2 separate regions of the Homo sapiens genome follow, and region 2 is linked to region 1. The links are contacts of gene promoters, found by promoter capture Hi-C in blood cells and fetal thymus (Javierre and others, 2016). All regions are on one chromosome and are shown on one strand. The core of a region is centred on a gene start or on the middle of the fragment in contact, and the rest is flanking DNA. Distances in the headings are between cores, read along the strand shown.

Evidence for each region. Contacts are between HindIII fragments. The CHiCAGO score rates a contact against its expected background, and 5 or more counts as called.
Region 2: a contact is called between a fragment that was not itself captured here and the fragment with the promoter of GLB1L2 in region 1, in 1 of 17 cell types (endothelial precursors). The highest score is 5.3, in endothelial precursors.

Annotation. Positions count from the first base shown.
Region 1 is chr11:134,326,780-134,333,237 of GRCh38, reverse strand. GLB1L2 (galactosidase beta 1 like 2) reads right to left here and starts at 1,250. Exons shown (of 19, transcript NM_001370461.1): 1 at 1,091-1,250. The coding sequence starts at 1,176. RefSeq lists a silencer at 1,101-1,400. The HindIII fragment of the contact is 5,891 bases long and covers 1-4,586 here.
Region 2 is chr11:135,061,863-135,068,320 of GRCh38, reverse strand. No RefSeq gene overlaps it. Among named protein-coding and RNA genes, the nearest start is that of LINC02684, 11 kb to the left of the region's middle. The HindIII fragment of the contact is 5,291 bases long and covers 1,145-6,435 here.

The sequences.
Region 1 (6,458 bases), core at 1-2,500:
AAATCCGTCCTTCTCCCAAACAATATCATGACGTCCCCACTATCTCAGAAACAAGAATCCAGTCTTGACAAGGTGTAAACATAGAGTTTGTCAGTGTGTTCTTCTGGCCACAAAGGACTTCCAGATATTTATCTCCATCAAAAACTTCCCTGTCTCCCAGGGGAAGTGCAGAGAAACTAAGAACTTAGTTTCTCTAAGTAAAAAAGAAGCAAATGACAAAGCCGAGCGGCGTAGGGCCTGCCACCACTTCCAACCGTTCAGTTCATTCGATACTGCCGGTCGGCTTCCCACTGGAGGTTTTGAATATGGAAAGTGCTGACCTGAAAGATAGGGTCAGGGCTGTAGAATCCTTAAAATAAGCACAGTTTAGAAAAATGCTGGGCTAGGGCACCCAGAAAACTTTTTCACAGGCTGTGGGTAAATCACAGTATCACTGAAGCCACTCCTTTGCCATAAACAACATTTGGAAAAGGGGGAGAGGAAAGGGTGAGCTGGTAACAGGTGAATGGTGGGAAAGTGGAGAGAGACGACCTATCAGTCCTACTGTGCAAATAAATCATGGCCCGGGATCTTGGAGGCCCACGGACACTGTTCTTACGACCCTGCCAGGCCAGCTGGCTAGACCATACCTGCCAGGCTGAAGCGCCGGCCTCTGCGGAATAAGGCGCCTCCCAGAGGCTTGGGAGGAAAAGGGGGGCCTGGGGGAAGGGCAGAGGGAGCTCTCCGCGGAGCAGTGGGGACGGGGCCGCGATGGGGTGCGTCTGAGAGGGCTCTGACGGCTGGAGGGCTGCGGGCGTCCACGGGGGGCAGAGCCCGGCGTCACAGGCGCGGCGGGGTGGGCGGCTCGGGGCACAGACGCCGGCTCCCGAGGGCACGCCGGGTGTCGCCCAGAGGCCTGGATCGCGCGGCAGGAGTAGAGTGCCTGCAGCCGCAGGGGAACTCGGGGGTATTGGGGAGCTCCCAGAAAGAAGCAGCTGGGGCTGCTCCCCCCGGGAACTCGGGATTCGCGGGTCGCGGGAGGAGAGAACCCGAGGTGCGGAGGGCTGGGGAATGTGGGGTCCGGCAGGTGCTGCGCGAAGCTCTCTCTCACCTGCGGAGCACCAGGAAGCCCAAGACGACCAGCAGCAGGAGTCCCAGCGTGCGGGCCGGCCTCCGCCGGAGGCTCCACGTGGTCATCGCGTGTTCTCTAAGCGCGGGGACCCGGGTTCCCACTCCAGTCCGCACTCAGCCGCGCGCGGGAGCCTCGCCGCGGGGGGCGGAGCCGCGCACTGGTCGCCTGGGCAACCGGCCCGCCGGCGCTCATTGGCTGGGGCTCGCGGCTCCGCGCCTGCAGCCCTAGGCCTCGCGCAAGCGGGGGCGGGGCTGGCCGGGGCCGGGGCGGGGCCTCTGTCGGGGGGGGGGCGGGGCGGGGCTGGTGGGCGGGGACGAGGTCTCGGTAGGAGAGGGGGCTGGCGGGGGCGGGGCTGGCGGGGCGGGGCCCCGGCCGGGGGCGGGGCGGGGACAAGGTCTCGGTAGGGGACGGGTCTGGCCGGGGCGGGTCCCCAGTGTCGTGGAGCGGTGCAGAGTCCGCCGTCTTTCTGCTCGCGAGGCGCAGGCGGGTGCGGGAATGCTGCGTACCTGTCAAACGCCGAGGTAAAGTCGCCCCTCGCAGCGCTACATCAGGAAGAACGTACAAAAGGCGTCCGCAAAGCAGGGGCAACCAACAGAATCTTTTAAAACAATTCAGATTCTGAAGCAAACAACTTTTTCAATAACAAATCATCCTGTGAAAAGCCAGGATTTTGAAGAATTGTATCTGGACACATTTCAGTGTGGTTCATGTCTGAGGAGGGGGGGTTCCAAATATTTTCTGTCTTTGGTTTCTGCGAGTCTTACTCTGGCCTTGACTCCAAGGGCTTCCAATTTTTTATTTTAAAAAGGTCCATATAAAACTCTCACATTTTAGGAAAGGAAGAATATCATTCTTATTCTGAAACAGAATGTATGTCCCAAAGAACATGATGTAGTATTTCGGTGCAACTTACACTGTAGCAATCACAAACCCAACTCCTCCCGGGAACAAAATTCAGATTTTACTGAAAGAAACTCGAGGAAGGGCAACGTTTTCCAGAGCATCCGGGTTTGTCGAATGTCTCCCTTGCCGCATGCTTTGAATTCATTTCCTAAACGGGGGCATAGTTTTGAACTTGTAAAGCCGACAGGAACCAAATGAAATTGCAGATCTTGGAACAAAGACACAGACTTGGGTATGAAGTGTCCTTTGTCTAGCGTTAAGCACATATTTAGTCAAGGAGCAAAAGTTAAATCAAAGAGAGGCAAAAACAAACGAACAAACAAGAGGAAAAAAACCCTGGCAGAACTGGGGAGGATAAGCTGGGCTTGGAGCAATCCGGGTCTGACTTAAGCACCGCAAACATTCCCAGAGGCGCGCAGAGGGAGGCCCACTCCCGTGGACGCGCTCCAAGCCCGCTCCTTTTCTCCATTGGGTAAGGCTATGATTGCTTGATGGCTATGAAGTCTGTGATGGAAACATGTTGGTTTAATTGGAATATACCAGCTAGCCCCGAAGCGTGTGGAGAAATTGTCAAAGGCTAGCCCCTTTGCCTGCAGGGGACCATCCGAAAGACATGCACCCCACATTCATCCTCTCACTTCTGGTCACGTTGAACAGTGGCAGAATCTATCAAATATAAGGGAATTCTCAAATGGTTTAAGCAATACAAGCATCTCCATTTTTCTTCAAACGTTAGCAAAAACTTAACATGGGTTGTGAAAACCGTGAACTCCTTGGCCCACCCTTGTATCCTTCGTTTTTATTTGTGCGAGAAAAATATACATAACTGAGTGTTTTCAAAAAAATTTCCCCTTAACCTTGTGGGATGTTCAGAACTAGGGACACACCCTGCTCACAGTCTAGGAACAATTTTACTTTATCTGGGCTTAATGATACCACAGAATGCTACAAAGTTAGCACTAACCCGAGATGCGTCTTGCTCATAGGCTGAGACTTTTTTTTTTTTTTTTGAGACAGAGTCTCACTCTGTTACCCAGGCTGGAGTGCAGTGGTGCAATCTCAGCTCACTGCAATGCCTCCCGGGATGCAAGCTATTCTCCTGCCTCAGTCTCCCGAATAGGTGGGACTGCAGGCACCCACCACCTTCCCCGGCTAATTTTTGTATTTTTAGTAGAGACGGGGTTTCACCATGTTGCCCAGGCAGATCTCAAACTCTTGACCTCAGGTGATCCACCTGCCTCGGCCTCCCAAAGGGCTGGGATTACAGGCGTGAGTCACCATTTCCAGCCTGAGACTTTTGTTTTTTAAAACATTAGGCCGGGTGCGGTGGCTCAAGCCTGAATCCCAGCACTTTGGGAGGCCGAGGGGGGCAGATCACGAGGTCAGGAGATCGAGACCATCCTGGCTAACACGGTGAAACCCCATCTCTACTAAAAATACAAAAATTAGCCGGGCGTAGTGGCGGGCGCCTGTAGTCCCAGCTACTCAAGAGGCTGAGGCAGGAGAATGGCGTGAACCCAGGAGGCAGAGCTTGCAGTGAGCCGAGATCGTGCCACTGCACTCCAGCTTGGGCGACAGAGCGAGACTCCGTCTCAAAAAAAAAAAAAAAAAAAAATTAGCAAGATACTCCTTCAGTGTCTCCTTTCCAAAATGTTTAGTGATCTTAACCCAAAGCAGACAGTGAAAATACTCAAATCCCTGGGAACAAAAGCTACAGTTACAATGAGCTGGCATAAGAGTGGGGTAAAAAAGTGGTCTGCCAAGGTGCTTGGCTTGGTAATGAATCCCTGGTACACAGGAATCATCCTCTTCCCAGGCCTTCTTTCTAGTGTCCAGGGTTTAGAAAATACAAGAAATGCTTTTTAAAAAAGTTAAATCTTGTTGGTGTGCCATTTCCATTGCTCTAAGTCAGAGCTCCAACAGACCCAGAGGGCACAGTTCCTTCCTTGAAAATTCCTGTATCACAGATAATCAGCGGGAAACCGAAACACATACAAAATGCACACACAGGAGAATAAAAACCACACTCGCTCAAAATCAGTACAGTGAAGTCACGTGGGAAAAGCGATCATGTCAAACTAGTCTCATTTGCTGTTTCACTTTTTATTTTTAATAGGTAACAGGTTTACAGATCAGTTATTCATTCACGTAACTCATTTTTGAGGGCACTCTGCTAATGCTTTAAACACAGGATATCTGAATTTTAGGAAAACATTGGCAAAATTTCTTTTAGTCATGAGAATAAGATGAAAAATGTGGCTTCTACGATAGTACAGTCACTTGGGCCCCTGGACCAAGATATAACCCTCTCCTCCCCACCTCCTCCTTATGGACAGACACCTCTGTCCAGCAACCCCCATCCACCCTCCCCTCAGGAGAAGCAAAGTCCAGTTATGATGTCAAGTTGCCAGGGGTCTTGAACAAAGAAATTCAGAGCACAGGAGAATTCCTGGGAATAAATGAGGGCCATTTCAACCCTAGCCAAAACAAAATAGAAAGTCCTGGAATGGAGATTTGGCCTAGGAAAAAGAAAAGAGAAGGCAGATTTAAGATAAAGGAAGTAGACAAAGCTTTTCAGCCCCAAAGATATGTGAGTGGGACTGGAAGGGGCCTGTGCACATCCGATAAGGATGCACAGAACTTGATCTTTGGCCTTACCAAGCCTAACTATCATTTTGTAGGCTCAGCCTTTGAAGGCCTAATAGCCAAAGATCTAATTCTGCAGCATTGTATTTATTAAAAAGTAAATGACAAATTTTAATGACCATAAACAACATACTGAACACTGTTTCACATGCTTGGGATGTATCAGTGGACAGAACAAAGATCTCTTCTCTTTGAAATTTCTGTTCTAGCTAGGGAAGAAAGACAATAAAACTTAACAGAATGAATAAGTAAACTGTAGAGTATATTCAAAGGTAGTAAACTCCATTGCAAAAATTTAAGAAGTAATAAGGGAGCCAGGCCCAGTGACTCACGCCTGTAATCCCAGCACTTTGAGAGGCTGAGACAGGCAGATCATTTGAGATCAGGTGTTCAAGACCAGTCTGGCCAACATGGTGAAACCCCGTCTCTACTAAAAATACAAAAATTAGCCAGAAATTGCTTGAACCCTGAAAGTGGAGGTTGCAGTGAGCCAAGATCATTCCACTGCACTCCAGCCCGGGCAACAGAGTGAGACTCCATCTCAAAAAAAAAAAAAAAAAAAAGTAATAAGGGAAGGAGGACTGGGAATGTGGTGGGGAGGGGTCTGCAGAGAGGCGGTCTCCCCGGAAAGACATTAGCTGAACAAAGATCGGAACACAGTGGGAGTTCTCCATGCAAGCGAACCAAGATAGAACCTGGAGGAAGCACTGTCCAAGCAGACAGAGCAGCTCGTACCAAGGCCCTCAGGAAGGAGCATGACCTGGTGTCCCTGGTGTCCAAGGAAAGGCTAGGAGGACAGCGTGGGAGGTGATGGCAAGAAGGCAGGAGATGAGGACAGAGAGATACAGGGGCCTGATCATGCAGGGCCTTTAAGAGCAGGGCTTTGACTCTGAATGAAATGGGAGCCACTGCATGGTTTGAACATGGCGGTGATGATAACTTAGAAGGATCACTGGTGCCATGCAGTAATCCATATGGGAGACGATGCTGGCTCAGGGGACAGCGGTGGAGGTAGTGAGAAGTGTTGAATTTTTGGGAGTATTCGGAAAGCAGACATGAGAGGGTTGTTGCAATTCGTGGATTGTTTGTAGGGGGAGAGAAATAAAGGGGGCTTAAGAATGTCTCCCACAGGCTGGGCCTGAGAAACAAGAAGTGCTGGTCGCTGTGACCTGAGATGGGGAAGGTCATGGGCAAGTTTCTGGGAGACATCAGTAGCTCAGCTTGGACCTGCTGCATTGAGTGGAGTGGAGTGGAGACACCACGCAGGCTGCTGAACATCAATCCTGATGGTCCAGAAAGAGGTTTGGGATGGAGATACGAATTTAGGAGTTGACAGAGAGCTGGTATTTAAAGGCAAGAACCTGCACCAATTAACAAAGTGCAGACCGAGAAAGGGGATGGGGACAAGCCCTGGCACACCTAACACTGAGAAAAGGCAAGGAACCATGCCACCAACAGGTGAGGTTAAAGCAACACTGAGGATCGACCCGTGGATTTAGTATGTGGTAAACGTTGGTGAACTGGACACAGGCAGCTTGGGTGGAGTTGGGGGTCATGGGATTTGGGAAGCCAACTGGAATGGGTTCGGGAAGGAAGGGTGAAGAGAAATCTAAGACCATTAATGTAGATGACTCTTTTGAGAATATAGGCTAGAAAGGGGACACATAGGCTGGGTGCGGTAGTTTACGCCTTCAATCCCGGCAATTTAGGAGGCCGAGGCGGGTGGATCACCTGAGGTCAGGAGTTCGAGACCAGCCTGGCCAATATGGTGAAACTCCATTTCTACTAAAAATACAAA
Region 2 (6,458 bases), core at 2,541-5,040, 730 kb before region 1:
CAAATTAAATAAAATTATTTATGAATACGGTTAAGGCTTGTTACCTCTTCAGCTTTCTGTCTTCACTCCCACTGCTGATTAGTGCATGTGGTACCACTGAGCCATAGCAGCCACAAACCTCCCTCTCCGTAAATCCAGGACATCCCTGGGAGCAGAAGTGTCCAGGCCTCCTCCGTGTGTGTTCCCCATGGAGCCCAAATGTTCTGAGTTTGCTCAGATGCAACCTGCCTGCCTCCACTCTTGCCTGACTCTACACACAACACATCTCATCATTGAGGTGCAGTCTCGTGGATCACAACATTAAAAACCATCTAATTTTGTTGTGAATTGGGTATTACTCTTGCTATAAACAACATGGGCACAACATTTTTTAAATGAACCTATTTGCTTTTCCTTTCCTTACCCTTTAGATCTGCACAAATTCAACAACTAAAGTTCATTAAAAACTAGCTTCAATTCAACTCACCAAACAAAACCGACAGACAGAGCGGCTCAGTTGCTGTAGCTGCAGCAAGCTGTGTCTCCAGGCTCCTCATTAGGGCAGCTTAAGGCTGCATGTGCTATCTTTCCTCACCCTCAGAGGATCTGATACAGTTGGCTAAAGTTTATTAAAAACTTCAATATGCCTCTCTTTCTCAAAAGATAACTAGATTTGCTAATGATCAAGTTTGACATTTCACCTTTCAGAGTCTGTTTCCTTATTAGTAAAATAAGGTATTTGGACTGAATTTCTGGCTCTAATCTAGGAGTATCCTTTAGAATCCCTTGTGGTGTTTTGTAAATGCACCACTGTCCTGGAACCACCACCAGAAATTGGAATTTTGTAAAATTTGAGTGGGAGCTGTGCGCACGTACGTTTATAAATTTCCATGGTGATTCTCACACTTATGCAGGTTAAAAAACATCAGTCTGGATCAGTGGCTTTTCACTCTGCTGCTCATTGTGATTACTTAAAGAGTTTTTAAAAATGGTAATTCACAGGTCTCACAACAGACTAATTAAATTGAAATATTTGAGGCGCCCCATATATTAACACTTTGAAGATCTCTCCAGGTCACCCTAATGTGTAAAGTTGAGAACTGGCAGCCAAGATCAGTGATGTTATCATCCTTAGACCAGATACATACAGAAGATGGGATAAGCTTTGAGGAACCTTTACAGCAATTTGACATTGCTGCTACCTCCAACTAATCAGGGATTTTTTTTGCTTTTATTATCTTTTGTTTTTCAATTATTTCTTTACATTTAAATTTATTTTGGTTTTACTTTTTTCTAATTACTCTTCCTTGTTTGTCTTATCTTTGTTTTTCATTATTATGACATTTTACAGTCTACGATCGATTGTAAATTGAGATAAACATGCAAACAAACAACTGAACAAGCAAAACTTGGTCCCACGGCCTGCTCTTGATAAACTTGGAGCTCCCCTCCAACTCTTGAGCCTCTAACTGTGGTCAGGCTTGACGGCTGGCTGCAGGCAACAAGACAATCAAGGAGGACAGTGCCCCGGGGTACCCAGAAGCAGGTGTTGCTGGCTCAGCCCCACTTTCAATGTGTAACCTGCCAAAAAGGCTCCTGATTTTCTGTTGGGTAAAGAACCATCAAGAACCTTCACTATCCTCCAGGATTTTGAAGGAACAACTAAGGAACCTTCCCTCTTTCAGTCAAATGATGAGCAACTCTGGCTAAACAGATTTCCTTATCCACAAATCTTGAGCTTGAAATGGTTGAGATTTATGTGTTCTGACTATGACAACCCCTCAAAGACACTGTCATTGGCTGCTCAGACCCAGATTCCTGGGGCCACTTGTCCTTTTATGAGCCTGGGTCTCTGAATGTTTGCTTCTGTCGGTGCCTCTTTATCTCTCCAAAGCCTTCTCCCACCTTCAAATGAAGAAACTTAACTGGTATTCTCAGCTTGGAATGTATAATATTCCATAAGATGTTTAGCCTTATGTGATGAAAGGACACCCTGTCCTCACGTTTTCCTTACAGAGCTCCAGGGCATAAGGAACCCATAGACTTCTCCTTGCCTCCTCAGTGGGCCTGACTCTGTGCAGAGAAACTCAAAGGAGGTCTGATGGGATGACCGACACTTCCTGCCCAGTCTGAACAAAATTTCTGAGAGCACTCCAGGGCCCTGGTGAAGCTCACGGAGGTGACATCTGACTTCTGCTTCCTCCAGATCCTTGCCTCTGCCCGTGTATCCCCAGCCTCCTCACCCTCCCCACAGGAATTCATCTTTCAGGCTGCTTCTTAGTCCTCCTGTCTACAATGAACTCAAACAAATTTACAAGAAAAAAACAAACAACCCCGTCAAAAAGTGCGCGAAGGATATGAACAGACACTTCTCAAAAGAAGACATTTATGCAGCCAAAAGACACATGAAAAAATGCTCATCATCACTGGCCATCAGAGAAATGCAAATCACAACCACAGTGAGATGCCATCTCACACCAGTTAGAATGGTGATCATTAAAAAGTCAGGAAACAACAGGTGCTGGAGAGGATGTGGAGAAATAGGAACACTTTTGCACTGTTGGTGGGACGGTAAACTAGTTCAACCATTGTGGAAGTCAGCGTGGTGATTCCTCAGGGATCTAGAACTAGAAATACCATTTGACCCAGCCATCCCATTACTGGGTATGTACCCAAAGGATTATAAAACATGCTGCTATAAAGACACATGCACACGTATGTTTATTGCGGCACTATTAACAATAGCAAAGACTTGGAACCAACCCAAATATCCATCACTGATAGACTGGATTAAGAAAATGTGGCACATATACACCATGGAATACTATGCAGCCATAAAAAAAGATGAGTTCATGTCCTTTGTAGGGACATGGATAAAGCTGGAAACCATCATTCTCAGTGAACTATCACAAGGACAAAAAACCAAACACCACATGTTCTCACTTATAGGTGGGAGTTGAACAATGAGAACACACGGACACAGGAAGGGGAACATCACACACTAGGGCCTGTTGTGAGGTGGGGGAAGCGGGGAGGGTTAGCATTAGGAGATATACCTAATGTTAAGTGACGAGTTAATGGGTGCAGCACACCAACATGGCACAGGTATACATGTGTAACAAACCTGCACGTTGTGCACATGTACCCTAAAATTTAAAGTATAATAATAATAATAATAAAAAGAAATGTGTTGATCGGAAGAAAAATACAGGTCTGCAGATCAGGGACTGAGCCCTCTCTCCTTCATCTGCCAATCCCGTCCCCCAGAACCCCACACAGTTGGGCAATAAACTCACTGCTGTTAGAAAGACCTCTCCATTGCTTTAGGAGCTGAGCAAAGGCTGCCAGGGCAGGGGTGAGGAACAGAGGCTTGAGAGAGAGACAGAAGGCACTCAGCTGTTTCCAACCTCAGAGAGGGAGGAGCTGAGATGAAAATTGTGCTACTCCACCTCAATAGCCTGCAAAATCCGTTCTCAGGGGCAGATTGCAGTGGCTCACGCCTGTGATCCCAGCACTTTGCGAGGCCGAGGTGGGCAGATCACCTGAGGTCAGGAGTTGTAGACCAGACTGGCCAACATAGTGAAAGCCTATCTCTACTAAAAATACAAAAATTAGCCAGGCATGGTGGTGCACACTGGTAATCCCAGCTACTCAGGAGGCTGAGGCAGGAGAATTGCTTGAACCCAGGAGGCGGAGGTTGCAGTGAGCTGAGATTGCGCCACTGCACTCCAGCCTGAGTGCCAGAGCGAGATTCCATCTCAAAAAAAAAAAAAAATCTGCTTTCCTAAACAAGCTGTGCTTGGCTTTCCAAAGATACCCTAAAAAGATAAAGAGAAAACAGAAAACACAAAACTCCTGCAGGTTAATAATGATGATTTGTATTTACAGATTCTTGAAACAACTTAAAAAAATTGCAATGACCCACCAGAGTAAATTAAAACTGGCTATTCATGTAATGTTGAGGTGTCTACTGGCTGATGGATGGTAAATTTAGGAGAAGAAATCATAGGCATTGTGAATGTGGTGCTCGGAGGGCAACGATGAGTGATACAACTGCAAAAATGCTAAGTTACCTTGAGAATTTCCATAGGCATGAAGCAGCTCCCACAGACTCACAGTGTGTCCAATCCACGTGTCCAACATCAGAGTGACGCTGTGATGCCATTAAAACATATCCATAAACCTCTTTACCAGTGGCCATCTAAAACAGTGAATGATTCACGTGTGCCACATGTGAAGGCTTAAAATGGAAACTTGATAAATTGGTTTGAAAATATGCATCTTATACTTCATTTCTCAAAGTATATTCTCTTCAGAAATAGTACCTTCTTTTCTTCTCCCAGAGAAACCTGAAACAGCATCAATTATTTACTTATAATTCTTAGTCTTCTTCTTATTACTGTGTGACAGAGTTTAAATATTGGTCTCCTCCAAAACTCATCTCGAAATGTGATCCACAATGTTGGAAGTGGGACCTGGTGAGAGGTGTTGGGCCATGGGGGTGGATCTCTCATGATTAGCTTGGTGCCTCCTTTGCAATAATGAGTGAGTTCCAGGAGAACTGATTGTTATAAAGAGCTTGGCACCTCCCTCCCCACTCTCTCTTTCCTTCTAACTCCCCATGTGAAGCCAGTTCCACTTCCCCTTACACCAGGAGTGGAAGCTCCCTGAGGGCCTCACCAGAAGCAGATGCTGATGCCATGCTTCTCGTATAGCTCAGAGAATATCAGTGGATGATAATTAAACTTGTGCTCCCCCACCTCAATACCCTGCAAATCTGTGAGCCAAATAAACCTCTTTAATTTCTGAATTACCCAGCCCCAGGTAATCCTTTAGAGCAACACAATAGTACAGTACCCAATGTGTGCAGCATTGAGCATATGAGAAAATGCTCCTGTGCTGGATCATTGAACATGTGCAATTGTTGAAAGAAAAGACATACACAGCAATGAATCCACACATAGGCTCAAACACAAAGACACACGCACACACACACAAAGTACACACACACTACTCAGATGCACACACAGTACTCACATGTGTGCCTGCACACACAGTACTCACGTGTGCCTGCACACACAGTATTCTCACACACAATACTCACAAGTGTGCATGCCCACACACTGTACTCACATGCACACACAGTACTCACACGTGTGCATGCACATACGTAGTAGTCACACACAATACTCACACGTGTGCATGCACACACCCAGCACTCACATACACCACAGCACTGGCACACACATATGCTCTTTGAGCTAAATGAAGATTTCTCTCTAGGAAGATTCCTTTTTCTTTTGAAACAAACTCAGTTCCTTTGCTGTATATGTAGGGCAATACATAATTTCTAATTTACCATTTTTCAGTTTGGGTAAACTGTTTTTGGTTTTGATTTTTTAAGGGAGTGGTCTATTTCAACTACAAGGTTGAATTTATTTGTATAAACTTGTCCAAAATATTTTCTTGTTAACGTTTTAACGTCTGAAGGATATAGTAATGATTCTTCTTTCATTATTAGTGTTGGTAATTTATATTTTCTTTTTTTCCTTGAGCAATTTAACCAAGATTTATCAGGATTTTTAATCTTTTCAAAGAACTACTTAATAAACATTCTACTATTTGTTCATCTTCTATTTTATGGATTTTCAATCCTAGTATTATTACATCCGTCCTTCTGCTTACCTTAGGTATAATTTTTTCTTCATGTTCTAGGTATTAAAAGTGAACATTTGGATTATTGTTTCTAAACATATCTTGTTTTTCTAATATGAGGGTTTGGAGCTATACATTTTCTTTATAATCACTGTTTTAATTGCACCTTACATATTTTGGGAAGTTGCCTTTTCATTTTTGTTCATTTCAAATACACTTTAAAATTTTAATCTTTTTGTTTGGTCTTTAAGTTATGTGGGTTGTTTAATTTCCAAATATACAGGTGATTTCCCAAATACAGTTTTGCTATTGATTTGTAATTAATTTCTCTTATGGACAGAGAACATGCTTTATGATTTTATTCATTTTAAATATGCTGAGAATGGTTTTATAACCCGTCATATAGTTTACTTGATGAACATTCCATATGCATGTAAAAAGAATGTATATTCTGCAGGTCTGGATTTTGTTTTCTTCCTTCAAAGAGTTTTGTCTTTAAAGGTCATTACTTTACTGGTGAATCAGTTTATCATATTTCAGGTTTGGCTTTAGGATTTTCTGAGGCAAGGGGGAATTGATCTAATTTAGTCTTTACTCTTGAACTAATGTAGCCACACTCCTAAAGTGTGGGCTTTGAGGTTTCGACTGAATTCAAAGATTTTCTGCAAAATCTCTCCACTCTAATTGGTCAAAATATTAACATCTCCCAGCACAGTGTGACCATTTATTCATTTCACAGGTCCACAGAAGTGGTTTCTGCCAATCTTTGAAGAGTCCTGATCTTATATAATCAAAGAAGCTTCAAGTCTGGAAGAGAGAGGCAA